Regions from separate parts of the Homo sapiens genome. Here all the other regions are linked to region 1. Evidence: promoter capture Hi-C in 16 types of primary human blood cells and fetal thymus (Javierre and others, 2016). All regions are on one chromosome and are shown on one strand. Each heading gives the region's core, a stretch centred on a gene start or on the middle of the fragment in contact. The rest is flanking DNA. Distances are from core to core; before and after follow the strand shown.

Region 1 (4,019 bases), core at 1,057-3,556:
CCCAACCCCTCAACAGGTAATGATCCTCTCTTCACGTGGCCATTGCGGGTACATGATTGGTTTCCTGTACTGACTGCTCTTCTCGTGAGACCAAGCTTCCTTTCCCCTACTCCCCACACACCTGATCATTGTGAACAAACCGCCGAGAGAACAAGGTAAGGCAGAAGGAACAGAAGCTGCAGAGAGCGGCAGGGGATAGCCACCAGCCAGATTCTGTGACTCTTCATTCATCTCCCCACTCCAGTCCCAGATTGAAGAATAATCTTCATGATCTCCTTAATGGCAAAATGCTAGAAAGACTTACCGAGGGGTCTGAAGATGCCTTCGGTTCTCCAGGTCCTGAACTCTGTTCCAGTTACAGGAGGACTGGCAATCCCTAGGTTTCCTGGGTGTTACTTTGTTACTGACCTCCTCTGAGATTTCCATTTTCCTCAATTTCGTCTAACTAAATCTAACTACGTCTAACTACCTCTGCTAACCAGACATTTGTTCATAGTCGACAGAGTTTCCGAAAATGCAATGTAGTTACCTTGCAGATGACTATAATTGTGTAGCAAAATAACTAAGATGCCACTGGCTATATGGAAAAAAAAATTACTTAGGATTTTGATACCTTTTATGGTTTATTTCCCCTTTTGGCCTGTGAACTTCATGAAGGTAATGGTTATGTATGATTCCCGAGTAATCACAGTTCCCAGAACGATCTTTTTTTTTTTTCTTTCTTTTTTTCTTTTTTGAGACGGAGTCTTGCTCTGTCGCTCAGGATGGAGTCCAGTGGCGCGATCTCGGCTCACTGCAAGCTCCACCTCCCGGGTTCACATCATTCTCCTGCCTCAGCCTCCCGAGTAGCTGGGACTACAGGCGCCCGCCACCACGCCCGGCTAATTTTTTCTATATTTAGTAGAGACGGGGTTTCACCATGTTAGCCAGGATGGTCTCGATCTCCTGACCTCGTGATCCTCCCGCCTCGGCCTCCCAAAGTGCTGGGATTACAGGCGTGAGCCACCACGCCCTGCCCCCAGAACGATCTTGAGAACAGAATGTTCCCAATAAATATCCACTGGAAAATGCACCTTATTTTTGTTGAAGGAATGGTGGAATTAGCATCAAAGGGATCTTCAACATTAACTCGGGCCGGGCACGGTGGCTCACGCCTGTAATCCCAGCACTTTAGGAAGCCGAGGCGGGCGGATCACGAGGTCAGGAGATGGAGATCATCCTGGCTAACATGGTGAAACCCCGTCTCTACTAAAAATACAAAAAATTAGCCGGGTGTGGTGGCGGGCGCCTGTAGTCCCAGCTACTCGGGAGGCTAAGGCAGGAGAATGGTGTGAACCTGGGAGGCAGAACTCGCAGTGAGCCGAGATCGTGCCACTGCACTCTAGCCTGGGCGACAGAGCGAGACTCCGTCTAAAAAAAAAAAAAAAAAAAAACTCTATGGCTGGTAATTCTAAGCGTTTTATAATACATCACAAAATGTTCTTTTATTTTTCTAAATTGCACTGAATCAACAAACGGAGTAGACAGGCACATTTTCTTCACTTTAAGGAAAGACTTTGTTGTTTTTTAGCTAGGGGCCGACCCAAAGTGATCACTGGCTCTCACATGAGACCCAGGAGCCTCCCCAGTTTGAAGCCCGATATCACATTTCCCAGAATACTTGATGCCCTCGCCCGCCTCCTCTGGCTATCAACCAGACGGAAAGGGGATGTGCCTGGGAGTTTGATGCCAAGGGAAGGATGCGGAATGTCTGTTTTCTACTAAGGGCTTCTGCTGGGCCTTTCCAATGTCCAGTTTGAGTTGGTCTGGGACCTGGCCTCCGCAAACACCCTGCAGGCTCCGGCCGCCGGGGATGAGGTGGAAGACTGGGCAGAAGAGAGGCCGCAAAGGCCCGAGGGCTGAGCTGCTCTGCGCTGGGGAGGGGCGAAGTGCCAGAGCGCGGGAGACCTCATGGTGGGCACCAGGCTGCTCCGCGGTAGGTGGGTGAGGCCAGGAGATTCACATCTGCAGATGCCACAGTGAGGATACAGCATTTAGATCCCTCGGCTCCAAACAGGCGGTTCCGGGGGACCGGTAGCTGGGGAATTGGGTTTAGCACTTTCCAACGCTTGGAACTGGACATCCACGGCTCCGAGTCCTTTGAGGTCTTGCTCGGGACTACGTTTCCCAGAAGGCTAGGCGATAATTGACAGCTCTATCAGCCTATGGACAGAGAAAAATTCTAGCCATGGAAACTGAAAAGCCAATAGCAAGAGGATGGGGGCGGTACTTTCCGGCCGCTGGCTGTCGAAGCCGGAGTCCCACCTGTGTCCCCACAGCCCTGTCACGAATCCCGGTCGGGTTCTGGGAGGCACAGCCTCGGGGTTGCGGGCCGGGTGCGGCTCGGCGGTGGAGGACTCACTTCCTGCTCCATCCCCGGCTGGGCCCTGGGGCGGTGAGTGATTCAAGGAGGGAGACCGCGGCGGCAGCGGCGCGCTGCTGAGGGGCGTGGAGGGGGCTTGCCCGCCACCCAGACGTTTTCTCAGCGGGGTTCCCGCGCTGGCCTTTGGGAGCCCCCGGGTCTTGCTGGGCTGTGGGAGAGGTAGCTGTGGTCTCTATACCGTCGGCGGGATAAGTCATTCTCTTAATCAGTTTTCTTGCTTCTCGATGGTGGTCCCAGGGTTTCAGCTGATCTGTGACCCTCTGACCGCCGCACCCCGGTTAGGGCGCGAGCACCGAGAAGAAGAACGGGGTTCGGCCCCACGCGTGCAGTCATGTTCCTATTAATAAACCCGGTGAACGCACTGGAGCTTCTCACAGTGGCACTTAGTCACAGCCCCTCAGCGCTGTGGGGCCTTTGAGGTCACCTGTGCATGGGGAAAGGGACGGGCTGGGAAACAGGGTTTCTATAACCGTGGCTAAGACGTCTCCCCTCCTCAGTGGCGCTGTCTCCAGCAAGTGGGCCCTGCAGCTGTGTTTTGTAATGAATGTAGAAATAAAAATTATACTCAAAACTCTTTTTTTTTTTTAGACGGAATTTCGCTCTTGTTGCCCAGGCTGGAATGCAATGGCGCTATCTCCTTTCACTGCAGTCTCCACCTCCCGGGTTCAGGCGATTCTCCTGCCTCAGCCTCCCAAGTAGTTGGGATTACAGGCGTGTGCCACCACACCCGGCTAATTTTGTATTCTTAGTAGAGACAGGGTTTCACCATGTTGGCCAGGCTGATCTCGAACTCCTGACCCCAGGTGATCCGCCCGTCTCGTCTTCCCAAAGTGCTGGGATTACAGTCATGAGCCACAGCACCTGGCCAATACTGAAAACTCTTATTACAATTTTTACTTTCTAATTACATTATTGTTGTTTGTTAAAGTTTTAAACCAGAGAGATGGTTTTTAGATCCTTAAAAACTCAATACTTTATAAATGACCAATAATAATGTCTGTAAATACAAAAATATTTCCCCCAAAAGTGTGTGTGTGTGTGTGTGTGTGTGTGTGTGTGTGTGTGTGTTCCAGTAGTAAATAGGTGATTTGTAGTGGGACAAAAGATGTGAAAGAGTAAAACTTCTTCACCACAGTCTGGTCCTTCCTCCCTTGAAATGCAATATTCTTTGTAGTGGGTGGTCATGCTGGCTGCATTTTTTTTTTTTTTAAGGGAGAGACAGGGGCTCACTCTGTTGCTAGGCTGGGGTGCAGTGGCGCCATCATAGCTCACTGCAGCCTGGAACTCCTGGGCTGAAGTGATCCTCCCACTTCAGCCTCCTGAGTAGCTGGGACCACAAGTGCATGCCACCATGCCTGGCTGATTTTTAAAAGTTCTTTGTAGAGAAAGAGGTCTCAATATGTTGCTGAGGCTGGTTTATTGGAAACTTTTTAAGGGAAAAAACATTATCTTAATTTCTATGTGACTCCTATGCCTGGCAACATATTAATTGTTGAATAAATGACTGATCCATCCAGTAATTCACTCTTGACTATCCTCCAAAAAGTAATGTTTTTCATGATATTGCTGTCGATTTATTAATATATTAATGATTGGT
Region 2 (4,019 bases), core at 571-3,070, 490 kb after region 1:
CTCTTTCCTCATCGGAAAGATAGGGGCATCATGAGCTGCTTGATAGGAATCAAGAAGATAACGTGTGAAATGTTAGCTATTTTTAGTTTCAGGTTTGTTGGAAAGAATGACAATGAGACGAGCTTACAGGAAGGGGGAATGAAAGGGGGAAATCAAGTCAGTAAGGGAAGAATGTGATAAAAAGCTTAAATGGAAATTTAAAAAACCTAACTTTTCTGGGAGGACGGAGGCTCCTTGTGGAGCCAGTTGAGGGTCTGTGGGGGTCATGGGGGCACCGTCAGACACTGTGGGAGATGCTGGACAGGGCTGGGTCCAGGCCTCCAGGCCCAGTGGGACCTCCCTTCTCAGCCCCCTTCTCTCTTTTTTTTTCCTTTGAGACGGAGTCTCACTCTGTCACCCAGGCTGGAGTGCAATGGCACAATCTCGGCTCACTACAACCTCCACCTCCCAGGTTCAAGCGCTTCTCCTGCCTCAGCCTCCCAAATAGCCAGGACTACAGGCATGTGCCACCACGCCCGGCTAATTTTTGTATTTTTAGTAGAGATGGGGTTTCACCATGTTGGTCAGGCTGGTCTTGAACTCCTGACCTCAGGTGATCTGCCCGCCTCGGCCTCCCAAAGTGCTGGGATTGCAGGCATGAGCCACCGCGCCCGGTTCAGCCCCCTTCTCTTTCAGCTCAGGCCCCCCTGCCCCTGCAGAGCCTTGGGAAGTGTCACCCCACACCAACTCCACCAGCTCCTACGAAAGCACCCCCAAATCATACCCTCTAGGCACCGCAGCAAAAGCAGCTTCAGGGCAATCCCCCAGCACAACCTCACCCCTTCCTGAGACTGGTGGGTGAGCTGAGGTCACCCGCCGCTGCCAGCAGGGCTGGGTAAATCTCGGAGCAGGCGGGGGCGAGGGCGGGGGCTGTCACCGCGGTGTTGCCTGACGCACCCTCCTCCCCAGCTCAGGAAATTGTGAGGTGAACTCTTCCCCTCCAGAGCGCTGTCTGCTGTGAAGGCGGCTCAGGCCCCCAACACACACATAGCAGGTGACAGGTAGGGCCCAAGCACTGGAGTCCCCGCTCCTCCCTGAAGACCTATCAGGGCATCTCTGGGACTGTGTTCCTGCTCTCCCTGCTCTGCACGCTCCCCCACCCTACAGTTCCCACGGGGCCAAACTTCGGTCAGAATCACCTTTATTGCACAGCCGCTCTGTACGCCAGGGGCTCATCACACATACAAGGTCGGTGGATTGTCCCCATCTTACAGATGAGGGAGCGGAGGCAGGGCGTGCAGAAGGGGCCACTCGTGGCCACGGAGCGGGGACTGGCAGGCCCATTGTCGTCAGCGGACTCCTCAGCCCCAGTGCCAGGCAAGGACTAGAGCCATGGAAAGCAGGGACGCTGAGTCCCTGGGGCGTTTGGGGCATCCCCAGCTGACGCATTTGTTGCAGCCTCTAGGGGCATGGAATAGGCAAAGTGCCCACATGGGGGTGCAAGAACTGATGCCCCCACCCCCCACTTTGTGAGTACACCCCATGGAACCTCGTTCTTTTTTTGAGACAGAGCCTCACTTTGTTACCCAGGCTGGAGTGCAGTGGCATGATCTTGGCTCACTGCAACCTCCGCCTCCTGGGTCCAAGCGATTCTCCTGCCTCAGCCTCCCAGGTAGCTGGGATTACAGGCATGCACCACCACGCCCAGCTAATTTTTGTATTTTTCGTAGAGATGGGGTTTCTCCGTGTTGGCCAGGCTGGTCTCAAACTCTTGACCTCAGGTGATCTGCCTGCCTCAGCTTCCCCAAGTGCTGGGATTACAGACATGAGCCACTGCACCCAGCCCCAAACCTCATTCTTTTTATGGGGTCATTCTTTGTATGGACGTCCAGAATCACCAATCCCCTACTGTTGGACATGCAGGTTATTTCTAGTCTTTTGCTAAGACAAGCAGTGTTGTGATGACTACACTATCCTACATCCCTTGGCATGTGGGTGTGTGTAGGATAAATGTTCTGGGCACCAGGCTCCAGCAGGCCCCACGAACAGGACTCTGGGCCTTATGCCAGGAGGGGGAAGATTCAAAGAGGGCCCCTCACCTGGGTCTGACCCAAACCCACACCAAAGCCAGCAGGTCATCCAGAGCTGATTCCCTGGGAAGCCTGCCCAGGAACCACCGTCCGTCGGGCTTTCTTATTGTAAGAGCTTTTTTTTTTTTTTCCTCCTTTGGCAGAGCACAGCGCTGGGCTCCAGCCCTGATGCAGAGGTACAAAGCTCGTCTGGGCAGATTGTTATGCAAATCAAAAGAGGAAGCAGAGCTAGGGGAGCCGAGGAGCTCCTGCTGGGCTCTGCCAGGGAAGAAGCCGCAGTAGGAGCCCCTACGTAGGCCCTGCAAGAGGCCTGGCGTTCAGGAAAGGGCCCGCTGACCATCCAGTGCAGGGAAAGGAGTCCAGCTCTGGCCTCTGCCCCTCAGCTCCACCTCCTGCATTCCTAGGAGTTCTCCAGAGGATCTGATGGGAGCTCAGAACCGGTCCCAACAGGTACTGTGACGCGATGGCCATTTTCCTTCCCTTTACCACTGTGCCCCCCTCCCCCCACTGCAGGGACGTCCCCTGGGGCGTCTCTGTGCCCATGCCCCATTGGGCGCCTCCTCTCAGCCCAGCCCCCTCCACACTGTATTGTCTCCTTAGCCGTGAGCTCCATGAGAGCAGGGTGTGCCCAGGTCACTGTTGTCTCCCCAGTGCCCGGCACAGTGCCTGGCACATCATAGATGCCCCGTGCTCCTACACCAACGAACTCCCCTGACAGCACCACATCCACGGGGAGCTAGGCCTCAGGGAACAAAGTGGTGCCTGGCTGAGGCACCCACGCAGGGCCTGTTCTTTTGTTTGAGACGGAGTCTCACTCGTTACCCAGCCCAGATTGCAGTGGCGCAATCTCGGCTCACTGCAACCTCCACCTCCTGGGTTCAAATGATTCTCCTGCCTCAGCCTCCTGAGTAGTTGCGATTATAGGCGTGCACCACCATGCCCGACTAATTTTTGTATTTTTAGTAGAGACGGCTTCACATGTTGGCCAGGCAAGTCTCAAACTCCTGACCTCAGGTGATCCACCCACCTTGGCCTCCCAAAGTGCTGGAATTACAGGTGTGAGCCACCGTGCCTGGCTCGGACTTGTTCTTGAGGATGACGGAACGGGGGTTTTGCTGTTAGGCCAGCCAACAAAATGGACAAGAAAGACGGGGGAGAGAAGTGAGATCCTTCCCGCCAGAGCCTGAGGCTAATGCAGGCCGTGCTGGGCCTCATGCTCCAGGCCAGCCTGGAAGAGCCCAAAGCCAGTTTCCTTCCAATGCTGCATATATTACCCAGCATTCTTAGATGGAAAGTCCAGTTTCTTTTGCTTTTTTTGTGTATGCACTTCAGGAATTTTTTAAGCTAATTGACTGAAGGGCTCATGTGCCTAGGAATAGCAATCCTAATAAGCTTTTGCGGAATCTCCCTGGTTTCAGACCAAGGCTGTGAATGTCCCAACTCACTTCTGTTCTTGGTGAGTTTTGCTTGTGTTTGTGAACGAGGTGAATTCATTAAACACAGCAGTGGCCCCTGCCCAGTGCTGGCTCCCTACAATGACCACTTCAATTGCACTGACCCAGATGCAATGGATTCCACCGCAGAAGTGCATTTAACTCAAATGCAAACATAACTGGAAGGTGACACAAGTCCTGAAATCCCTGGTTGTGCAGACTCATCAGTGCCTAGCCACTGGTCACTAGCATGTTTTCATTTTTCTCCAGCTCCCTCCACCCTTCATGAACGGGGGCTGGAAAATGTGGTCTGCTCTGATAAGGATTTGCGTCAGGCTACTGGCTACTCAGCAGCCGAGAAGAGCAAGCCTCCAGGCCTCTGCACGCGTGCCTTCTGCCCGGTGAGCCTCTCACTATCGTCCTTCTAAAAGACACTTCAAAAAGAGGCAAAATCATGCCTTCCATACATATATTAAAAAAAGAATATGTGTCAAATATTTTATTCTACTCCTAAACC
Region 3 (4,019 bases), core at 649-3,148, 460 kb after region 1:
ATGGTCTGATATGTGTGATGATCTTGGCAGTTTCCTTCTTTCTTCATAATTGCATTGTTTCTGACAGCCGCTTTTTGATTTTCTGCCAGGGCACCCTCTGCCTTCTGGCTAGTAGGTTAGGCCTGGCAGGAGGGAGACCATTCCATCAGTCTTGAGAACTTGACCCCAAAGTAACTGTATATTGTAACAGAGTTGCTTGCAGAAAAAAGAAACCAAAAAAAAGTCCACAGTCAACTTTTGCAAGCTGTTGTGTTTTCTTTTGCAGTTTTTCTACCTCTTGTCCTTCTGAGTAATAAAAAACAAGAACTGAGTGGGGAAAGAGAAAGGAAGGCAGACATTACCAAATTGTCATTTTCTTGTTAAGTCCATAAACAAAATCTTGTATGTGCTAATCCTCCTGCCAGAGTACCGAAATTAAAGGCATTAGAAAACGTTAGTTTAATTTTGTGGTTTTGAGTGCGCAAGTGATCAGTAAGTGCTCTTCAGTGAGAACATTTTCTTATTTCCATCATTTATTCCTCCACTTTGGGAAATACTCATTTCCTCAGTAACTCACACAGAGCCGGAGACCTTAAAAGGCATCTGGCTCAACACCCAGGGTTTTTGAAGAGGAAGCTTAGGCCTGGCCTGGGGAGGGCTTATCGGAGGACAACCCTGCCTGGTCTCGATTTCAAAGGTAGAAGCGGACACTGGCCTGCCCACACCTGCCCAGAGCACGTTCACTTCTGCATGTTGCCTGTGGAGACTCCTAAAAAACACGCATGGTCTTCCATCTCATCTTTATGTATTAGAACAAAGCAAACCATATTGCTATTGGCTCCCTTATTTAATTTTCACAACTTTTGTTTGTAAGAGTGAAGCACTTTGCAGCATCATCTGGAACCTAATCTGATAAGAAGCAGTAAAGCTCACACTTGTACCCATTTCCATGCTTGTTTTCAGTGAGCCTGGGTGTTTAAGATGGGATTTGTTGTTGTTGTTGTCGTTATGGAGTTTTGCTCTTGTCACCCAGGCTGGAGTGCAGTGGCACCATCTTGGCTCACTGCAGCCTCTGCCTCCCGGGTTCAAGCTATTCTCCTGCCTCAGCCTCCCAAGTAGCTGGGATTATGGGTGCACGCCACCACGCTGGGCTAATTTTTGTATTTTTAGATGGGGTTTCACCATGTTGGCCAGGCTGGTCTCGAACTCCTGACCCCAGGTGATCTACCCACCTTGGCTCCCAAAGTGCTGGGATGACAGGCGTGAGCCACTGTGCCCAGCCAAGATGGGATTCTTTTTTAAGCCCTACCAGCTAAAGCCAGTGCACTGTGTGACTTTGTGTTACCCTTGGAGCAGCCTCTTTTTGCTCCACTCTCCTTTCCACCGACCCAGTGTGCTCCCCGGATTGAGAGTCCCTGTGCAGTGAAAGAATAAATGTGGCTCTCTGCCAGCAACCTCACCTCCCCACCCTACCCTCAGAGTTTCACATCTTCAGAACAACACACAATGAACCAGTTGTGTTCTGGGCTCTCTGAGTGGGAGTAAATGGATGGCCCAGGTGAAATGGAGGCTGCTGTTGGCCGATTCATTCTGTAAATCAACATAAACAGCAGGTTTTCTCTCTGGGCTTAATTTCTCAGCAGGAAATCAGCATAGGGAAACTTCAGGCTGCATCTCTGCCAGTCTAGCAGATCTCTGCCAGTTCTGCAGTAAAACTGCCTTGGAGCCAGAGTTTAAGTCATGGAGCTCCATCAGAATGTCATTACCCACAGGCTGTGGCCCTATACCCTCAATTCAGACGGGAGGCTACTTGTATGCCCTGGTGCCGTGGAATTAGTGTGGGGCCTGACATCAGCCGGTTACAGAGCAGCAGGAAAGGCTTCTGCGGGTAATGCTGCCCACAGCCATCACTGTAAACATGCCGGCCCCATGGTTTTGTTTGTTTTTATTTTACTTAAGGGTGGGAAGGGAGCTGTTATCTTAAGGTCTGCAAGGAAAGTGAGATGCTGGAAGGACTTGGTAATCGGCTCTGGCGGCTTCTTCCTTGGCTTTAGAAGGCAGCGAGTGGGAGGGAGAGCTGGCAGATCTCTGGGTGTAGGCAGGTGAGCCAGGGAGCTGCTGGACACGGTCCTAACAGAAGGCCGCATCTGCAGCCTTCCTGGGGCTTCCTGGGGCTGGCCAGGAAGACGCCCAGCTTTGCCACTCCTGGCCACCCAGCTCCACCCCATGCATGCTCACCCCACAGCTGCCTTGCTCTGGACTGTGCAAGTCCAGTCATTCCGGGGTGCCTGTCAGCAGGGAGCTGGGGCCTTACAGCAAGGTGTTTCACTTCTTTTATTTGGTCAGAATAGATGAGGACATGTGGACCTCAGCTCCTCTTGCAGGCTCTGGTTGTAGGCTGCCGAAGGTGTGGGTGGAGAGAGGGGCGGTGGGTTGGTCACAAGTCAGAAAATTAAGAAACAGTCCTGCACATTTCAGAAAGACAAATCCAGAACAAATTTATATGAAGGGCCGCGGTCCTTTATTCCATAAGTAGTAAAGGAAACTTACCTTACCTAGGGGGCTCGTAGGCAGAAAATGCACAAGGACACATTAGGCCCAGGGAAGTGGTATTGTAGCTCTGTGCAGGTTGAGAGGAAGGTCATTCATTTTTGGTTTCATTTAACATTTTGATTTTTTTCTTTGTCACATTTCAGGGGGTCTGCCACATGTAGAAAGATATCTTCCAAAACGAAATCCTCCAGCATCATTGGATCCAGTTCAGCCTCACATACTTCTCAAGCGACATCAGGAGCCAATAGCAAATTGGGGATTATGGCTCCACCGAAGCCTATAAATAGACCGTTTCTTAAGCCTTCATATGCATTCTCATAACAACCGAATCTCAATGTACATAGACCCTCTTTCTTGTTTGTCAGCATCTGACCATCTGTGACTATAAAGCTGTTATTCTTGTTATACCATTTGAAGTTTTTACTCGTCTCTATTAATATTTAAATAAATGCTGGGGGGTGATAGTTCTTCTTTTTAAAATAAACATTTTCTTTTGAATAAGCATGTTTTGCTGCCGCTGCAAGTGTTGTGGCCGTTGTTTCTCAGAACGTCTGAGGCAGCAGCTGAATCATCTCAGTGCAAGAGCTTCTGAGCATAACACGAAACCCAGAAGCCAAAGGAAGAGCCACGCGTGGGCCCTTGTGAAACTAAAGCTTTTCGTGTAAGACAACACAAACAAAATTTAAAGACAAATGACGGGGAAAAGAGGAGAAAATATATTACAAAGGATTAGTATCCATCATACCAAATACCCGTGAACCAGTCAGAAACATCCCAGGGGGCAGGTGGACCAAGGATGTGAACAGGCTAGTCTCAGAAGAAGAAATACACATGCTCATGGCCCGGCACTGTGGCTCACGCCTGGGATCCCAGCACTTTGGGAGGCCGAGGCAGGTGGATCACGAGGTCAGGAGTTTGAGACCAGCCTGCCCAACATGGTGAAACCCCGTCTCTACTAAAAATACAAAAATTAGCCAGGCGTGGTGTACAGGCACGCCTGTAGTCCCAGCTACTCAGGAGGCTGAGGCAAGAGAATCGCTTGAACCCAGGAGGCGGAGGTTGCAGTGAGCCGAGATCGTGCCACTGCACTCCAGCCTGGGTGACAGAGCAAGACTCCGTCTCAAAAAAAAAAAAAAAAAAAGAAATATACATGCTCTGCAAATATGTGAAAAAGGTCAATCTCCATGAATAAAAATATGATAAAACCATGTGAGACCATTCTTTTGCCTACAAATTATCAACACTGGATAATATCCCAGTATTTGGGGTCAGCGAGAAAGATTGGCAGATTGTTTGGGTGGACGTGTGTGGCAGTTGCTGTAGTCCTTTGGTATTGTGGTGGCCTCGTTTTTCAGGATGCTCCATAATGGGCCAATTGGCCCCAGCATCTTTGGTAGGATTTTGGCCTCTCTTGCCTGAACTCCAGTGGCCCCATTTTCGGAGACATGCGTTTCTCAGCTGTAGGTCACCTTTGTCTGGGTGCCACA
Region 4 (4,019 bases), core at 704-3,203, 380 kb after region 1:
TTTCTGTCACTGTAGAATAATTAGCATGTTCTAGGACTTTTAATAAATGTTATAATACAGTGTGTATTCTTTTGTATCTCACTTCTTTTACACAGCATAATTATTTTATATCGGTTTTTATGAAGCAAGTATAAAACAAATATTTAACATAAAAATTAAAGGTAGCACAAAGAAAATTACAGATGAATATTATGTATAAAAATTATGTAAAAGTTCTAAATAAAATACTACCAAACAGAACAGAATCCAGCACTCTATTACAAAACTATTAGCTCATCACCAAGATGTATACCAGGAATGCAAAGATGGTTTAACATTAGAATCATCAATGTAATTCACCATATTAATTAACCTAAGGAGAACAGTCATATATTTACTTTTATATATGCTGAAAAAGCCTTTGACAAGATTCAACACCAATATATAGTAAAAACTCTTAAGAAATTATATTGTAATCAATACTTCTTTTTTTTTTTTTGAGATGGAGTCTCACCCTGTCGCCCAGGCTGAAGTACAGTAGCATGACCTCAGCTCACTGCAACCTCCACCTCCCAGGTTCAAGCCATTCTCCTGCCTCAGCCTCCCAAGTCGCTGGGATTACAGGCGCCCACCACCACACCTGGCTAATTTTTGTATTTTTAGTAGAGATGCGGTTTCACCATCTTGGCCAGGCTGGTCTCAAAGTCCTGACCTCAGGTGATCTGCCCACCTCGGCCTCCCAAAATGCTGGGATTACAGATGTGAGCCACCATGCCTGGCCAATCAATACTTCTTAATGATGGTATTCTCTCTCTCTCTCTCTGTCTCTGTCTCTCACGCACACATACACACACACGCGCGCACGCACGCACACACACACACACACACGCAGAGAGAGAGAGAGAGAGAGAGAGAGAGAGAGAGAGACTTTATTCCTAAATCCTGTATTTTATCTAATAGGAAAATACTAGAGGCATTTTTACTAAGATTGAGAAAAATATAGAGATACTCACCAACTCCACTTGTATTTAACATTGTACTGGGGGCTTAGCCAATGCAGTTAGATAAATCAATTAGAGGCACAAGATTTGGAAAATAAAAAGTAATATTGTCCCTACTTGCAGGTGATATGGTAGTGTGTCTGGAATACTGCAGAAAATCAATAATGAAACTAACTAAACAGAAAAGGAATTTTATAAGAATATGCAAAAATCAGTAGTCTTCATATACACAACAAGTTTGAATATATAATGAAGGGTAAAATCCCATTTACAGCAACAAGAAAAAGAGAAAATATTTAGGAATTTAAAAACATGTAAAACCTAGGTGAAGAAATCTTTAAAACACTTCTGAATAACAAAAATAGCCTTAAACAAATGAAATCTTTTGTTCTAGGACAGGACAACAACATCATAAAAGTGCCTAAGTTAATATATATATATATATATATATATATATATATATATTTAAGTTAATACATATACCTAAGTTAATATATAAATTTAATGCAATCTCAATATAAATATCAACAGAGTTCTGGCACTAGACAAGTTGATTCTAAAGTTCATATAGAAAAATAAACATATAAGAATAGGAAAACAGAAGAGCTACAAAGAGAAAGTAGACTTCCAGATATTGTAACATGTTGCAAAGCTTCTATCATGATAATATTGTGGTATAGACCAATGGTATAGAATGGAAAGTCAATAATTAGTCTCCTAAACACATGAAGAATTTAGTGTATGATAAAGGTAGTTCTGAAATTATTAGGGCAGAGATGGACTCTTTATAAATAGTGCTGGGACAACTTGTTAGCCACTTGAAAAAACAAAATTATATCTATACTTTATATCAGACACAGGAATAAACTCCAAATGAACCAGAAATCTAATTTTTTTTAAATTACCTACTAGAAGAATACATAGATGAGTTTTCTGTAACCTGGATGTGGAGAAGGGCAATAAAAGAGGGGGAAAAATTGGCTACATTGAAAAGCAAATTCTTGATTACAAAAATGAAAAACACCATAAGCAAATTTAAAAGATAGATGAGAAACCAGGAAAAAAATCTGCAAAATACATTTTAAAGACCTACTATCCCTAGTCTAAATTGAGAGAAAAAAATACTAAAATTTGGTTAAAAAGGCAGAATACATGAGCAGATACAATTTTTTAAAAAGATTCAAAAACCATCCTTAAATATGTGAAGAAAATATTCAATTTCACCTAAACAGGAAGTGTAAATTTAAAGCTGCACTGAAATACCGTTTCTCACCTATCAGCTCTGCACTAATTAGAAAGCTTCACAAGAAGCCCCATTGGTGAGGCTGTGAGGAATGCAAACTTGTAAAACCTCCTTTGAGGGAGAAGTTGGCAATCCAGCAGACTACACATGCATTTGCCCTTTGACCCAGCCATTCCACTTGTAGAAATATTCCCTAAAGATACATTTTCTTTTCTTTCTTTCCTTTTTTTTTGAGACAGGGTCTTGCTTGTTGCCCAGGCTGAAGTGCAGTAGTGTGATCTTGGCTCACTGCAGCTCAAACTCCCAGGCTCAATTGATCCCACCTTGGCCTCTGGAGTAGCTGGGACCACAAGTGCATGCCACCACGCCTTACTAATTTAAAAATTTTTTTTATAGAGACGGAGTCTCACCATGTTGCCCAGGCTGGTCTTGAACTCCTGGACTCAAGCAATCCTGTCTCTGCCTCCCAAATTGCTGGGATGACAGGTGTGAGCCACCGTGCCCGGCCTTACGTTTTCAACAGTAGGGAAATATGAATGCACAAAGTTATTTGTTGCAGCATTATTTGTAATTGTAAAATATCAGGGAATACCTTAAATGTCCATACAGGAAATTTGTTGGTAAATATCTACACAATGGAGTACTGTACAGCTGTAAAGAAGAATGAGGAAAATCTTTGCAAACGGGTGTAGAGTGATTTCTAACATGAATGGAAAGCGTACATACAGTGTGCTATTTTTTATGTAAGAAAGAAGGGAAAATATGAGACTCTAATGTCTGCTTATTTTGCAAAAAGAAAAACAGGAAAGATAAATCAGAAATTATTGAAATTGATAACCCACAGGAAGTAGATGGCAAAGGATGGAGAGGGAAGAACACTTCTCTGTGGGGAAAAACAGTCTTTTATGTAGTTTTAACTTTTAGAACTATGTAAATGTTTTATATATTCAAAAATCAAATCCACAAGAACAGTACAAACACAAACTAATCTAATTCAAATGATGAATGTAATCACCCTGAAGGTGAGGTGGGACTGACCAATCAAGTAACTTTTGAATATAGTACTTTAATTATGTACCCTTAATCTGAAGAAAGAAATGCAACTGAATTTTGAACTCTTCTTAGTAGGTTTTTTTTTTTTAGTGACAGGAGTGTAGCAATTTGAAATTACTTCCTATAGTTTCAGATTGAATAAATGAATAAATATATGATGGTTTTTTCTATGAATTTTAAGATAGATGGATAGATCAATGGATGTATAGCTGTAGATACAGAAATAGATAGAAGTGTTTATATTTCCTAGATCTGTCTACTAAAAGGGCCTAGGAGCAATGATATGCAAGTAGCAGATCATATCTAATGGCCAGGTCTTAGATTTTAAAGATTTTTCCTCATTAAAATAAATGAAGGCTGTTTGAGGAAATGGTGATTCTATGGCTGAAGCAGGAAAAGTAAATGAAGACCATGAATGTTGTGCCAGGTAATAAGAAAGTGCCTGATGGGAACACTTTAAAGGACAGAGGAACCAATGGATTAAAGAAGAAAACAAGAGACATTAGAGTATATCTTGAGACAATGAAAACGAAAACACAACATGCCAAAACTCATGGAATACAGTGAAAGCAGTACTAGAAAGGAAATTTATAGCTACAAATGCTTACATTAAAAAAGAAAGATCTGAAATCAACAATTTAACTTCACACTTAAAGGAACAGTAAAAAGAACAAACCAAACCCAAAGCTACAGAAACAAGGAAATAATAAATATTAGGGCAGAGATAAACAAAACAGGGACTA
Region 5 (4,019 bases), core at 433-2,932, 330 kb after region 1:
AGGTGATCCACCCGACTCGGCCTCCCAAAGTGCTGGGATTACAGGTGTGAGCCACCATGCCCGGCCAAGGAACATTTTCATCTTTTGATCACAAGCTCCTCTTTCAACTTACAAATACGAATTTTAACATACTTGCATTGTTCTTTTTGTTGCTCAAATCATCCTGTATTTGGTCAGAGAGAGCCTTTTCACATGAACCCCTGTGTCCTTTTAATCAGACTCCATAGTGATGATACCTTCCTTGTTCAGCTGCCCCAACCTTGGACTGGCCATTTGGCAGGAGCCCTAGTTTCTTTTAGCAGAGAATGACATACAGAGACCATGATCTAGGCAAGATATATACTTTTTTTTTTTTTTTTTTTTTTTGAGACAGGATCTCACTGTCTCCTTGGCTGGAGTGCATGGCAGTCACGACTTACAACAGCCTTGAACTCCTGGGCTCAAGGGATCCACTAGCTTCAGTCACCTGAGCAGCTGGGACCACAGGCACATACCACCATACCTGACACTCTCTCTCTGTCTCTCTCTATATATATTTGTTGTTGTTTGTTTGTTTGTTTTCGTAAAGACAGGGTCTTTTGTTTTGAGACAGATCTCACTCTGTTGCCCAGGCTGGAGTGCAGTGGCACGATCTCGGCTCATTGCAACCTCCGCCTCTCAGGTTCAAGTGATTCTCCTGCCTCAGCCTCCTGAGTAGCTGGGACTACAGGCACGTGCCACCACGCCCAGCTAATTTTTGTATTTTTAGTAGAGACAGGGTTTCACCATACTGGCCAGGCTGGTCTTGAACTCCTGACCTTGTGATCCACCTGCCTCCGTCTCCCAAAGTGCTGGGATTACAGGCGTGAGCCACCGTACCCGGCCAAGACAGGGTCTTTTTTTATTTTTCATTTTCTCAGCCTGAATATGTTTGTAGACAAGGTCTTGCTATGTTGCCCAGGTTCTACTCTTTTTAAACACAAAAATTACATAATTTTTCAGACAATCTGTTTTGCCATATTGAGAGGCCTTTGCATTAAGTCTGCTAATGCCCTGACAACCACCACATCACTTGGGATTTGGAGTCCCTTTGGGTTAGAGCAGGGTTTCTCAACTTCGGCACTATTGACATGTGGGCTGGATCATTTTGTTCTTTGGAGGCTGTTCTGACACTGCAGGTAGATGCCAGTAGCACCTCCCTAGTTGTGGCAACCAAAATGCCTCCAGACATTGCCCAATACCCCTGGGGGTGCCAAAATCATCCCCCGTTAAGAATCACTGGATGTCCTCTGGGATTCTACGGAAAACTTCCTGGAACAAACCAGAGAAAATCTGACTCCTGATGTCACATCCATGCCAGCTTCCTGCCTCTGTTTCCCCATTTGTCCAGTTGGGATCATGACTACAAGATAAAACAGCATATGGTGGGAAGCAATGGGACCTGCAAGGAGTCATCGTGGTACTCATGAGGAGCAGACATAAGGTCACAAGCAGCACTGCCCTGGAACTGCATGGCACTGTGCTGGCTTTGCCAAGGTGGTAGGGCATCCCACTGAACTGACTCAAGTCCCCAGGATTGCTCCAACTCTTGTATTCCCTCCAGGCCTCTTTTTAATGTTAGCGTTGTTTAAGATCTTTCATTTTACTGTCAAAAAGAGAAAGTCTCATTTAATTCATACCAGATGCTGAGTGAGTCGTCATGAATCAATACAACATTATCCAAAAACCACCAAAATGAATCATAAGGATAAACAGGATTTTTTTCTCCCTGCAAAACAGTGACTAAAATAGTGCCTTGCCCTTTTAGAAAAAAAAAAAAAAAAATCTGAGGTTAGGAGGAGGCCTAGGGCCCTGCTCATGTAATCCACGTGTCCGTGAGCATGGAATGGTTCAACTGCAGGTCCTAGGGAGACAGTGTATGAGGCCTGCAGCTAAGCCAGGCAGACACGGGCTGGAGAAGGTGTCCCAGAGTTAGGATTCAGGAATGGGGGTCCAGCAGCCCCCTGAAACTTATGCAATCCTCTGTTTCCATCCCAGTCTCAAAGCTGTCTGTGACTCAGAGAAGTTTTGTCACCCTCATTATGGATGAAGAGGCTCTTGGGAACTGTGGAGGGTCTTCTGGGAGGTGAGCATCCCAGAATTCTTCTGCTGCTGATAAAGCTAAGGCAGCCCATCAGCCTCATGAGCACTTATTTTCTCAGTCCTTCCTCTACTGTGATCCTGAGAATGCACTCTGAGTATGTAGGGGAGTCAGAAATGGTGTTTGTCCTCTCTGGGGCAGCAGGGAGGCTGGAGAGGGAAGGCTCTGGGCCCACCTAGGCACTCAGACTCTGACCCTTGAATGGAGGAAGCAAAAGCCAAGAAGAGGTTGGGGCTGACACATCTTTACAGTGTGGCCAGATGAGACTCTCAGTTGGTTCCAGCTTCTAGGTCCCCACGGCCTCCCTGTTTTCTGTCTTTTCCAGACCAGGCTCTTCAATTTCCCCTTCCATGTTGTGAGGGACTCCATAGCCTTCTTGTGAATTTCCCTTGGGGTCGGGGGTCAGTGTCTGTTTCTTGCCACCGCAGCACCAGGCTGGTTGTTTCTGTAAGAGGCTCTGAGAGCTGCGCCTCCCACATCCCTCACCTCCCAGACTTGTGCAGGAGTAGTCAGGAACATGCGGAGCTGGAACCACACTCGATGGCACCCACGAGGTCAAGTCAGAAGGGCTCCCTTCTGGTAAGGCAGAATCAGAGCCAAGGAGGCTGAGCGTTCCCTGCAATCACTGCCATCACTGATGAAGGAACTGACTCATCTGATGTGGGCCATTGAGGAATGTGGAGGTTGGACGAGTGACCACTAGGACCTTCAGCAATAGAGAAAATGGAACTGGCTGGGCACGGCGGCTCATACTTGTAATCCCAGAACTTTGGGAGGCTGAGGTGGGAGGATCACCTGAGGTCAGGAGTTCAAGACCAGCCTGGCCAACATGGTGAAACCTTGTCTCTACTAAAAATACAAAAATTGGCTGAGTGTGATGGCACGTGCCTGTAATCCCAGCTACTCCAGAGGCTGAACCAGGAGAATTGCTTGAACCTGGGAGACAGAGGTTGCAGTGAGCTGAGATTGCACCACTGCACTCCAGCCTGGGCAACAGAACAAGACTCCATCTCAAAAAAAAAAAAAGAAGGAACTGTTCCCAGAGATCCTCAGTGCCACTCCAGGTTTCAGCGAAGCTCTGCTGAGGGGCCGGGGTCATGGACCCCAGTGTACACAGGCTCTACTAGGGGATCCTATCGAAGCCCCCTCCCCCGAATGGCCTCCAGGAATCTGTCCTGGCTCCACCTCTGGAACCTTCATTTTCTTACATCTTGCCTGTAGCCATCACCACACTTGGCAACCTACTGTGTGTCACCTAGCTCCCCTACTTATGGGATGACTACTTCAATTCTTCACTCTCTCAAACTTCCAAGGCCCTCCTATCCCCCCCTCACCTCTGGCCTCTGCCCACTAGAGGACCCCCACTAGTAATACCCCTTAGTTGTGACAATCAAAAATGTCTCCAGACGTTGCCAAACATCCCCTCAGGTGGAAAATCACCCTCAGTGAGAACCACTGATCTAGACCAACAGCCAGCCGCTCTCTCTCATGCTTGTGACCCACATCTGGAATGCACACATTTGACTGACCTTCATCTGTCTCTTGATGCAGCCCTTTTTCAAAGCCCAGCATGGCTGGGCATGGTGGCGCACGCCTGTAATCCCAGCACTTTTGGAGGCCAAGCCGGGAGGGTTGTTTGAGCTCAGAAGTTTGAGACCAGCCTAGGCAACATGGTGAAACCCCATCTCCACAAAAAATACAAAAATTAGCCGGGTGTGGTGGTATGCACAGGTGGTCCCAGCTACTCAGGAGGCTGAGATAGGAGGATTGCTTGAGCCTGGGAGTTCAAGAACAGCCTCGGCAATATGGCAAGACCTCATCTCTTAAAAAATAAAAAAAAAAAAAATTAAAAAAACTTGATCACATTTTTCTGGAGGGGAATTTAACAATATTTATCATA
Region 6 (4,019 bases), core at 724-3,223, 310 kb after region 1:
CTTTGAGCCTGGTTCTCTGATTTCGCTAAGATTTTATGAGGCACCTCCTATCCTTTAATAGGTTCCTCTGTAGCTTAAAAGCAGCTAAAGAGCAGTCTGTTGCTTGTAATTAAGGACTCCTACCAGTACACGAAGGGAGAAAAGCAATAATCAAATAAATTACTTTCAGATAGAGATCAGTGCTAGGAGGAGGTCAGCACAAGGTGATGTAAGACAGAGTGACAGGTGGGGTGAGGGCTACACTTGATAAGGGGTCAGTGAAGCCTCTCTGAGGAGGTGACGTTAGGCTGAGACCCAAACAATGAGAAGGAACTAGCCATAGAAAGATCTGGGCGAGGAGACTTCTAGACACGGGGAGCAGAAAATGTAAAGGATGAGCTTCAGATGTTGATGGATGTAGGGAGGGTTGATGTGTTTGGAGTTTAGTGCAGGTGAATAAAGAGGAACATAATGAGATTGGAAAGTAGGTAGGAGTCAGTTCATGCCAGGCCTTGCAGATCATGGTAAGACATTTGGATTTTATTCTGAGGTTAGTGGGAAGCCATTAGAGAGTTTTAAACAGGACATAATATAGTACCTGGGGTAGCCAGCCTCCAAAACATCCTCCAGTGATCCTTGCATCCTTGTATTTACACTCTTGTGTAGCCCCTCTCACATTGACTAGGGCTGACCCAATAGGATGCTGCAATGTGACGGTATATAACTTTCAAGGATAGGTCATAAAAGACATTGTGACTCTGCCTTGGTCTCTCAAATGTCTCCCTCTGGGGAAGCCAGCCACCATGTTGTGAAGATACTCAAGCAGCCCTATGGAGAGGCCCACACACTGGGGAGGCACTGCGGCTTTCTGCCGACAGCCTTGTGAATGAGACACCTTGAAAGAGGATCCTCCAGCCCCAGCCAAGCTTTCAAATGGTTCCAACTCTGACATGCTGACAACTTCATGAGAGGCCCTGAGCCAGAACCACCCAAACTCCTGACCCATTAGTGTGTTATGTAACAAATGTTTGTTGTTTCATGCCACTAAGTTTTGGGGCAATTTGCTACCTCTAGCCATTGTTCCCAGCTGGTGTGTAGTCTGACTGGCAGGTGCCCATGCTTTATTAGTGGTTTGATATTTTGACTATCGGCCCTGAGTAGGAGGAATGACACAGAGAGGAGATAGAGTTGTGAGTGAGAGGAGGCCAAATCGTGGTGTCAGAGCGAGAAGCAGCACCCTGGGGAGGGCTGAGTCACTTGTGCTGTCTGGAGGAAGGCGGAGCAAAGATCTGCAGCCCAGCTGACTGTGGTCTCAGCTTTTCTAGCCTCCAGGCTTTCTCCCGGGTTCCTAAGTCTGTATGTGCTCACTGGAAATGCCCCATGACTTGGGGTGACATGGGTGAGTTTTCTTCCTCCTTCCTCCCAGAGCCACGCCAGACCTGATGCTGGAGGGCTGGGCTCTTGTCCTAGTTCCCCGTCCTGGGCTGGGCCCAGGGCACCGGCCAGTGGGAGAAACTGCCTTCTCCGCCTCCTACATGCACTGGTGGTCACACCTCGCCCCACATCAGCCTCTCCAGCCAGGTAGGGTGGGAACCACAGGAAACGAGCCCCCTTCTTCTCTTCCCACCAGGAGTGGCCGGGGGGTGTGGATTCAGGATCCTGAGCTCTGCTCTGCCTCCGTTGTTCTGGCCGTGCCTGAGAGTTGGTTTGGGTTGATTTCAAGGGCACTTTAATGAGATTTAGCAATAGGAGGTGGTAGAATTTCCACTCCCTCTAATAACTTCCCAAAAGCCAGACACATAGCATTTTTTTTCCTTTTTGTCATTACCCTTTTTGGCTTTAATTACAAAACATATGAAATAGAAAACATTCACAAACAATACAAAACTATAAAAAGTGAGTACCCCTTTCTCTTCCCACTCTCTGATTATTTAGATACCCTCCAGTTAAAACTCTCTCACAAACAGGTCTGAAAGGAGCATGCAAGCAGCCCCCCCACATTGCAGTTTTGCTTTCTGTGGTTTCAGTTACCTGCGGTCAACCACCATCTAAAAATAGGTGAGTGCAGTACAATAAGGCATTTTGAGAGAGACAGAGAGAGAGAGAGAGAGAGAGAAACCACATTCACATCAGTTTTATCACAGTATATTGTTAGAATTGTTCTATATTATTATCAGTTATTATTATTATTTTTGAGATGGAGTCTCACTCTGTCGCCCAGGCTGGAGTGCAGTGGTGCAATCTTGGCTCACTGCAACCTCCGCCTCTTGGGTTCAAGCAATTCTTCTGCCTCAGCCTCCCAAGTACTGGGATCACAGGCACCCACCACTGTGCCTGGCTAATTTTTGCATTTTTAGTAGAGACAGGATTTCACCATGTTGGCCAGGCTGGTCTCAAACTCCTGACCTCAGATGATCTGCCTGTCTCAGCCTCCCAAAGTGCTGGAATTACAGGCGTGAGCCACTGCGCCCAGCCTTAGTTATTATTGTTAATCTCCTGCTACACTAACTCCATGGCCTGAACAGTCCACCCCTTTGGCTGCTTAACATCGTCATCTGCCTTCTTCCATCCTTGCACTCACAAACAACAGAACCCAACAGCAAGTGGAGAGATGTTTTTCAAAAAGGAAATAGTTGTGAAAAGAGTTCATGGCTTTGCTCCAAAACTTCAGGGCTTTCTGGCATTCTCTTTTCATCTTGCTCATATATTTATTCATTGCCTGCCTAGGGCATCTGCTGGGTAAGCTATGAGAGTGGGGATCTTGTTCATCACCATATCCTCAGGACCTAGAACAGTGCCTGGCACATCATAGGTGCTCAACAAATGTTAAATTAATGAATTGTGCCATGAAGTTCCTTCCTATATTGAATAGAGCTGACCTGTGTAGCCAATAGGGTATTGCAAAAATGACAGTGCATTTCATGAAGCCTCAGTTTCCATGGCTAAGTGCCTCTTCCTTTGGTTATTCCCAATTTCAGATTCCAGAGAAGGGGAATATGATTGGCTCATCTTATCTGTCTGTACCAAGCCATGCCATAGATTGCCAGGTGGCCTATAAATTGGAAGCTTCAGGGAGATGTGTCTGCCTACCTTAGTCAATTAGAAGTCCCATGGCCGCTCAGACACTGTGGTTGACAAGTCTAGTATGATAGGGTCACATCTTATCGGAGGAGTGATTCTAAAATCTCTACGTAAGACTTTATCCCATACAGAGTTACTCATGAAAATCCCTTAAATTACCCATACATTTATTTATTTATTTATTTATTTATTTTATTTTATTTTTTTTTTTGAGACAGAGTCTCGCCCTGTTGCCCAGGCTGGAGTGATCTCGCGATCACTGCAATCTCTGCCTCCCGGATTCAAGTGATTTTCCTGCCTCAGCCTCCCGGGTAGTTGGGATTACAGGCATGCACCACCATGCCTGGCTAATTTTTTTTTGGTATTTTTAGTAAAGACGGGGATTCAGCATGTTGGCCAGGCTGGTCCTGAACTCCTGACTTCAGAGGATCCGCCCACCTCAGCCTCCCAAATTGCTGGGATTACAGGCGTGAGCCACCGTGCCTGGCCAAAAAATACACATCTTTAGACATGAAAGTCACAGTCCTCATAATGAGATGCTCACAGTGTAAGAGGCATTTGTGAGACCCACTGAGAGAGTAACAGGCTCCCATCGCATCTATCTCTGCTTATTCTGGGCACACACTCTGAGTAGAATGATAGGTAGACTCGCTGGCACTATTTAAATTGTCCTCTCCCCTCCGCTCCATTCCTCCTTCCTTTCTTCTCTTTATTTACACATACATGCTACAAGGGTTTAAACATCCACTTGCTCTTGTTGGATTTACACATGAATTGCATGGAGGTCTGAATATAAGAGGAAGAAAATTAATCTGATCCCAGTGAGAAAGCCCTGAGCACAGATGTAAAAGAAGAAAGCAGCAAAATTGTATTGATAATCCTATTTCCTGAAATAGATCTCTCATATGAAATGTAAGGAGATTTTAGAAAACAGCTATTACCTATTCTGAGGGAGATTA
Region 7 (4,019 bases), core at 814-3,313, 290 kb after region 1:
CCTCCTCGGGGGCTGGGGAAGGAAGACAGGGACTGCAGGTGTCTCATACTCAGTGGCCTCCAGACAAACTCCAGACAAGCACAGACCTCCCCACTAAGAGCAGCCAGAGGGAGCTGGTGAGGCCCTAACCCCACCCACCGAGCAACTGAGCTTCCCCATCCCTCCCCAGAGCTGTGTCTCTGTGGGCTGGGAGTCTAATGTCACCCCCCTAGACCGTAAGCTCCTTGAGGGCAGGGACAGTGCCTTATCATTGTTGAACCCGTAGCACCTAACACGTGCGTGGCAGCACAGTCGTGTGCTGGAGTGAGTGCTGCAGAACCGTGCGTGCAGCGCATGATGAATGAGTGCGTCCGCCATGCCGTAAGGCAGGCTCACCTGTAGCTATCCCCTTCCCTGCCAGATCTTCTCAGAGCTTTAGCTTTTCTAGCACTCGTGCCTATGGTGAAGCATGCACTTTAATATGCTTTTAACACTAGGTGACCAAATCACAGTGAAGCCGGGCACTGCATTCTCCTTGGGCTGTGCTCCACGCGGGTGGGTGGGAGCTGTCTTCTGAGTACATCCGGAAGGGCTGAGCAGGTGAGTGCCCTGAGCATCCTGGCTGGGCCCCACCCAGGAAGATCTTCCTTCTCAGATCCACGTTTGGCTCTAAATTGCTTCAAGTAGAGATTCATTCTTTGAGGTTGAAAAAATAGTTTATAGTAAAACGAAGGCCTAATTCATGGAAGCATCATTAGTCATCAATACCTTCTCATAAAATAGATGGGCCAGATTTCCACCACCGCCTGCCTCCTCTAACTTGGGTGATGCCAGTAGGTTTGAAGGGGGCAGAGCACTGCAGGGGGAGGGGGGGGTCTAGGCTGTGAGAGGACAGGGTGGAGAGGAGGAGAACCCTGAAGGAGAGACGGAAGATGCCAGGACCTTTGCTTGGACAGCCATTGCCCTTCCAGGAGACCCTGGAGTGTACTGAGGGTTGCTGGACTGTTCCACCCAGAGGAGCAAGGCTGTACAATGAGGGTCTGAATCTGGCACACCTGTCCCTTATGTAAAAGGAGTCGTGGTCACAAGACCCTGGGCTGGTTAGCCTCTCCCGACCTCATTCCATTTCTATCTTCTGACCTTGCCTCTCATCTTTAAAATAACCCTCATGGGGTGCCCCTCCACCTTCCTCTGGAATCCAAGTATTCCTGTTTCACATTTGCCCCAAATCTTTGCTGTGGAATTGGGAAATCAAACCAGAGTCCTCCTCGCCTGATTTCCAGCTCAGGAAGGGCCTGCTGGCCTGCCCTGTTCCCAGTTACACTTTCAGATCCCTTTGTGCTCAAGATCTCAGAGGGGGTGGCTTTTTGTTAAAGAGCCTTCAGTCGCAATGCTACCCAGCACCCCATGTGCCAAAAGAAACCAGCTCCTGTGTCAAAGGGCTTCCAAACCTGATCTCACTCTCAACAGGCGATGGTGCTGATGTTTCAAGAATTGTGTTTTTATAAAACAGAGGTCTCAGCATAGTCACTCTTCACATAGTGCCTTACCCATGGGTATCGTCATATCCGGGTCCCAGTTCAGTTTGTCTGCACAGCAGCCACCCTGCCTGGCAACAGAGACCCCAAGACCTACACAGTGAACCCTACTGCCCCAAAGGCGTTCTCCAGGTGACTTGTGAAAACAGACCTCCGGGGAAGTGATTTATTGGGGGTGTACACTGGGGGCAATATGGTTTAGCACTGAATTCAATTTGTCCTTAGGTCTATGAGTGAGTCCGATCTTTTCTTGTGAAAGGTTTTGGGCATCGTACAACCCACTCTGCCTAGAAGGTGTGGAGGACTCACCACGGGCAGGGTCGCCCTGGCCCACAGCACGTGAGCCTGCACTCACTGCGGCCTTTGTAACAAAACCAGTTGTGGTCCTCAGCATTTGAAGCAGCTGCATACTTCAGAGTAAACTATTTTTCATTATTTAGTTTTGTCACAAGAAATCGACCATTGTACTACTCTCACTTACAGCAGTTAAACAGCATAGAACTAAAAACCTGTCTGCATTTCCATTTTTTCTTTCTGTATGGTTGTGGGTTTTAGGACATAGGGGGTTAGGAGAAGGGGTTTCTTGATCATGTCATGAATTCTCCTTTGTCCTGTTTCTCCTGTTTCATTTCTCCTCCGCCTGCTGTATATTACCTGAGCTGGTGTTGTATCTTCAAGTCCATATGCGTATTTGCAGACCTTTCCTGTTCCCACTCTTGTTGGCTCTTCTGATTTATGCACAGATGGTTCCCAGCATGTGTCCAGTGCTTCATGGATGGGACCATCCCAGCAACTAATCAGACTTCCTGCCAGTGTCCTAACCCCCAGGGCACCCTGTTCAACCATATTTAAAAATTGGAATTTGTATAAAGTTGCTTCCAAGTTTTATAATGCATCATTTTACATCTTTTGTAATTAAAAGCATCACAATGAGGTTGTCTCTGCATTTGGTGGTGTTTTTCTTCACTTGGGTGAGGGGTTGGTGGGGAGCCTTAATCTCACCGCCTCCTGCACGGCTCAGCCTGCAGCTAGGATTTGGAGCCTTGGCAAGGCAGGCCCTGTACCAGCTGTGGGTCAGGCCTTCTTGTGATACGTGAAGGGGCACTCAGTTCCCTTAGCTGGAGGCAGCTGGGTCTCCTGCCCCCACAGCCAGCACCCGCTCCACACCCCTGCCCACGGCCCTTCCTCCACCAGATACTCTGTCCTGGGTTGGCCTCTAGCCCTGTCCCTTCCCCAGACCCCCATCCCAGCAGGGTTCAACGCGAACAGCCACATCTAGCACTTGTCATAAAGGTGACTGTCTCCTGAAATCCTACCTGGAAATCCTGTTTCTGACTTTAACTTCCTGAGCCCCCATTTCCACTCTGGTCTACACACACCCTGTTCTTTGACCGCACTGAGAATTCTTCCGTGTCCCCTCTTCTCAGCCTGCCCGTCCTCTCCTAGCTTCCCTTGCTTCTGCCCGGGCCCACCTGGCTCGTGGCCTCCGTGGCACCCCCAGGCCCCTTCTCCTGCCACCACGCCACTCTTCCTCCTCAAGACCTGCCACCACGTCACTCGGGCTGAGCTTTCTGTTGCTGGGAGCCCTGCGGGAAGAACCAGCACTTCCAGGCTGTGCTGACCCAGCCCTCTCCTGCCACGTGGGGCACCCACGCCCTCCTCTCCTCAAGGCTCATCAGACCACATGAGGCCTTCTTGCCTCCCATCCAGGCCACCTGGGCCAGCTCCCGCCGTGTCCCAGCTGCTCCCCATTCCGTCCCATGGCCCGTCGCGCCTTCCCCAGCGTCCCTATGCCTTACGAGGTCCTGTTTCCACGTCAACCTGACCTTCCGCAAGGACTTGCTGATGTTCTAGGGCCTTCTACTTAGCCCTCTCTGATGGCACCTCCCCATCAGCCTGTGAAGATGCCCAGTCTCCTTCCTCAGAACAAACAGAAAACTCTCCTTTCCCCGCCGGCTACCCCTCATGCCACAGCCCTGTGTCCTGCCTCTCCTGGAGGAGCACTCCTGCTCAGCCTCCTTCTGCCCGCAGCCCCAGGGAGCCCTCCAGGATTCCCTACTCTCCTGCCTCTGTCCAAGGCCCTCTGATGTCAGCCGCATCCTGACCCTTTGGCCACTCTCTCCCCTCCGAAATCCTCTCTGGCTCCAGTAAGGCTTTTCTGCATATTCTACCACCCAGGCCATGCCTGTCTCCTATCATCCTCCCCCTCCACCATCATCTTCTTTCCATCGACCTCCCAAACCAACTTCTCCAGCCCTCCAAGCAGACGACCCTCATACTTAGCCCTCTCCCCACCTGCCTATCAGCCAGTGCTCATGCCCACCCCACCCCTTGTTTTCTGGAGATCCGGGTCCACCTGCAATTGACATCCAGCTTCCCCACAGGGCTCCAAACTCTGCAAGCACAGGGGCATGTTTACTTGTATGCCACTTCCCCAGCACCTGGCACACAGTAGGGGCTCGAAAAATCCGCAAATTCTTCCGAACTGTTGACAGCAGCTTC

The links. The method cuts DNA at HindIII sites, captures the fragments that hold promoters and counts their contacts. A CHiCAGO score of 5 or more calls a contact.
Region 2: a contact is called between a fragment that was not itself captured here and the fragment with the promoter of ZNF774 in region 1, in 4 of 17 cell types (total B cells, monocytes, naive B cells and 1 more). The highest score is 9.5, in total B cells.
Region 3: a contact is called between a fragment that was not itself captured here and the fragment with the promoter of ZNF774 in region 1, in 4 of 17 cell types (total CD8 T cells, total B cells, naive CD8 T cells and 1 more). The highest score is 7.1, in total CD8 T cells.
Region 4: a fragment that was not itself captured here is called in contact with the fragment with the promoter of ZNF774 in region 1 in 4 of 17 cell types (total B cells, total CD8 T cells, activated CD4 T cells and 1 more); the score reaches 5.5 in total B cells.
Region 5: a contact is called between a fragment that was not itself captured here and the fragment with the promoter of ZNF774 in region 1, in 6 of 17 cell types (fetal thymus, naive B cells, naive CD8 T cells and 3 more). The highest score is 8.1, in fetal thymus.
Region 6: a contact is called between a fragment that was not itself captured here and the fragment with the promoter of ZNF774 in region 1, in 5 of 17 cell types (fetal thymus, naive CD4 T cells, naive B cells and 2 more). The highest score is 7.0, in fetal thymus.
Region 7: a fragment that was not itself captured here is called in contact with the fragment with the promoter of ZNF774 in region 1 in 5 of 17 cell types (naive CD8 T cells, naive CD4 T cells, fetal thymus and 2 more); the score reaches 7.5 in naive CD8 T cells.

Annotation. Positions count from the first base shown.
Region 1 is chr15:90,349,978-90,353,996 of GRCh38, forward strand. It overlaps ZNF774 (zinc finger protein 774), which reads left to right and starts at 2,307. Exons shown (of 4, transcript NM_001004309.3): 1 at 2,307-2,434. The HindIII fragment of the contact is 4,226 bases long and covers 94-4,019 here.
Region 2 is chr15:90,837,382-90,841,400 of GRCh38, forward strand. It overlaps LOC105370969 (a long non-coding RNA gene), which reads left to right and starts at 2,345. Exons shown (of 3, transcript XR_932610.3): 1 at 2,345-2,519; 2 at 3,773-3,903. RefSeq lists enhancers at 2,958-3,612, 3,638-3,932. The HindIII fragment of the contact is 3,277 bases long and covers 183-3,459 here.
Region 3 is chr15:90,812,427-90,816,445 of GRCh38, forward strand. It overlaps BLM (BLM RecQ like helicase), which reads left to right. Exons shown (of 22, transcript NM_000057.4): 22 at 2,676-3,740. The coding sequence ends at 2,853. Among named protein-coding and RNA genes, the nearest start is that of FURIN, 54 kb to the right of the region's middle. RefSeq lists a silencer at 2,251-2,360 and an enhancer at 3,975-4,019. The HindIII fragment of the contact is 2,570 bases long and covers 614-3,183 here.
Region 4 is chr15:90,733,828-90,737,846 of GRCh38, forward strand. All of the region lies in intron 1 of BLM (BLM RecQ like helicase), which reads left to right. Among named protein-coding and RNA genes, the nearest start is that of BLM, 18 kb to the left of the region's middle. The HindIII fragment of the contact is 647 bases long and covers 1,631-2,277 here.
Region 5 is chr15:90,678,960-90,682,978 of GRCh38, forward strand. All of the region lies in intron 2 of CRTC3-AS1 (CRTC3 antisense RNA 1), which reads right to left. Among named protein-coding and RNA genes, the nearest start is that of LINC01585, 21 kb to the left of the region's middle. The HindIII fragment of the contact is 4,674 bases long and covers 1-4,019 here.
Region 6 is chr15:90,659,447-90,663,465 of GRCh38, forward strand. All of the region lies in intron 2 of CRTC3-AS1 (CRTC3 antisense RNA 1), which reads right to left. It overlaps LINC01585 (long intergenic non-protein coding RNA 1585), which reads left to right and starts at 788. Exons shown (of 3, transcript NR_120371.1): 1 at 788-1,378; 2 at 1,947-2,037. RefSeq lists enhancers at 944-1,472, 1,695-1,744, 1,885-1,934, 2,595-2,654 and a silencer at 3,656-3,705. The HindIII fragment of the contact is 2,140 bases long and covers 904-3,043 here.
Region 7 is chr15:90,642,883-90,646,901 of GRCh38, forward strand. CRTC3 (CREB regulated transcription coactivator 3) reads left to right here. Exons shown (of 15, transcript NM_022769.5): 15 at 1-2,463. The region is part of intron 2 of CRTC3-AS1 (CRTC3 antisense RNA 1); the gene reads right to left. Among named protein-coding and RNA genes, the nearest start is that of LINC01585, 15 kb to the right of the region's middle. RefSeq lists a silencer at 3,722-3,905. The HindIII fragment of the contact is 9,655 bases long and covers 1-4,019 here.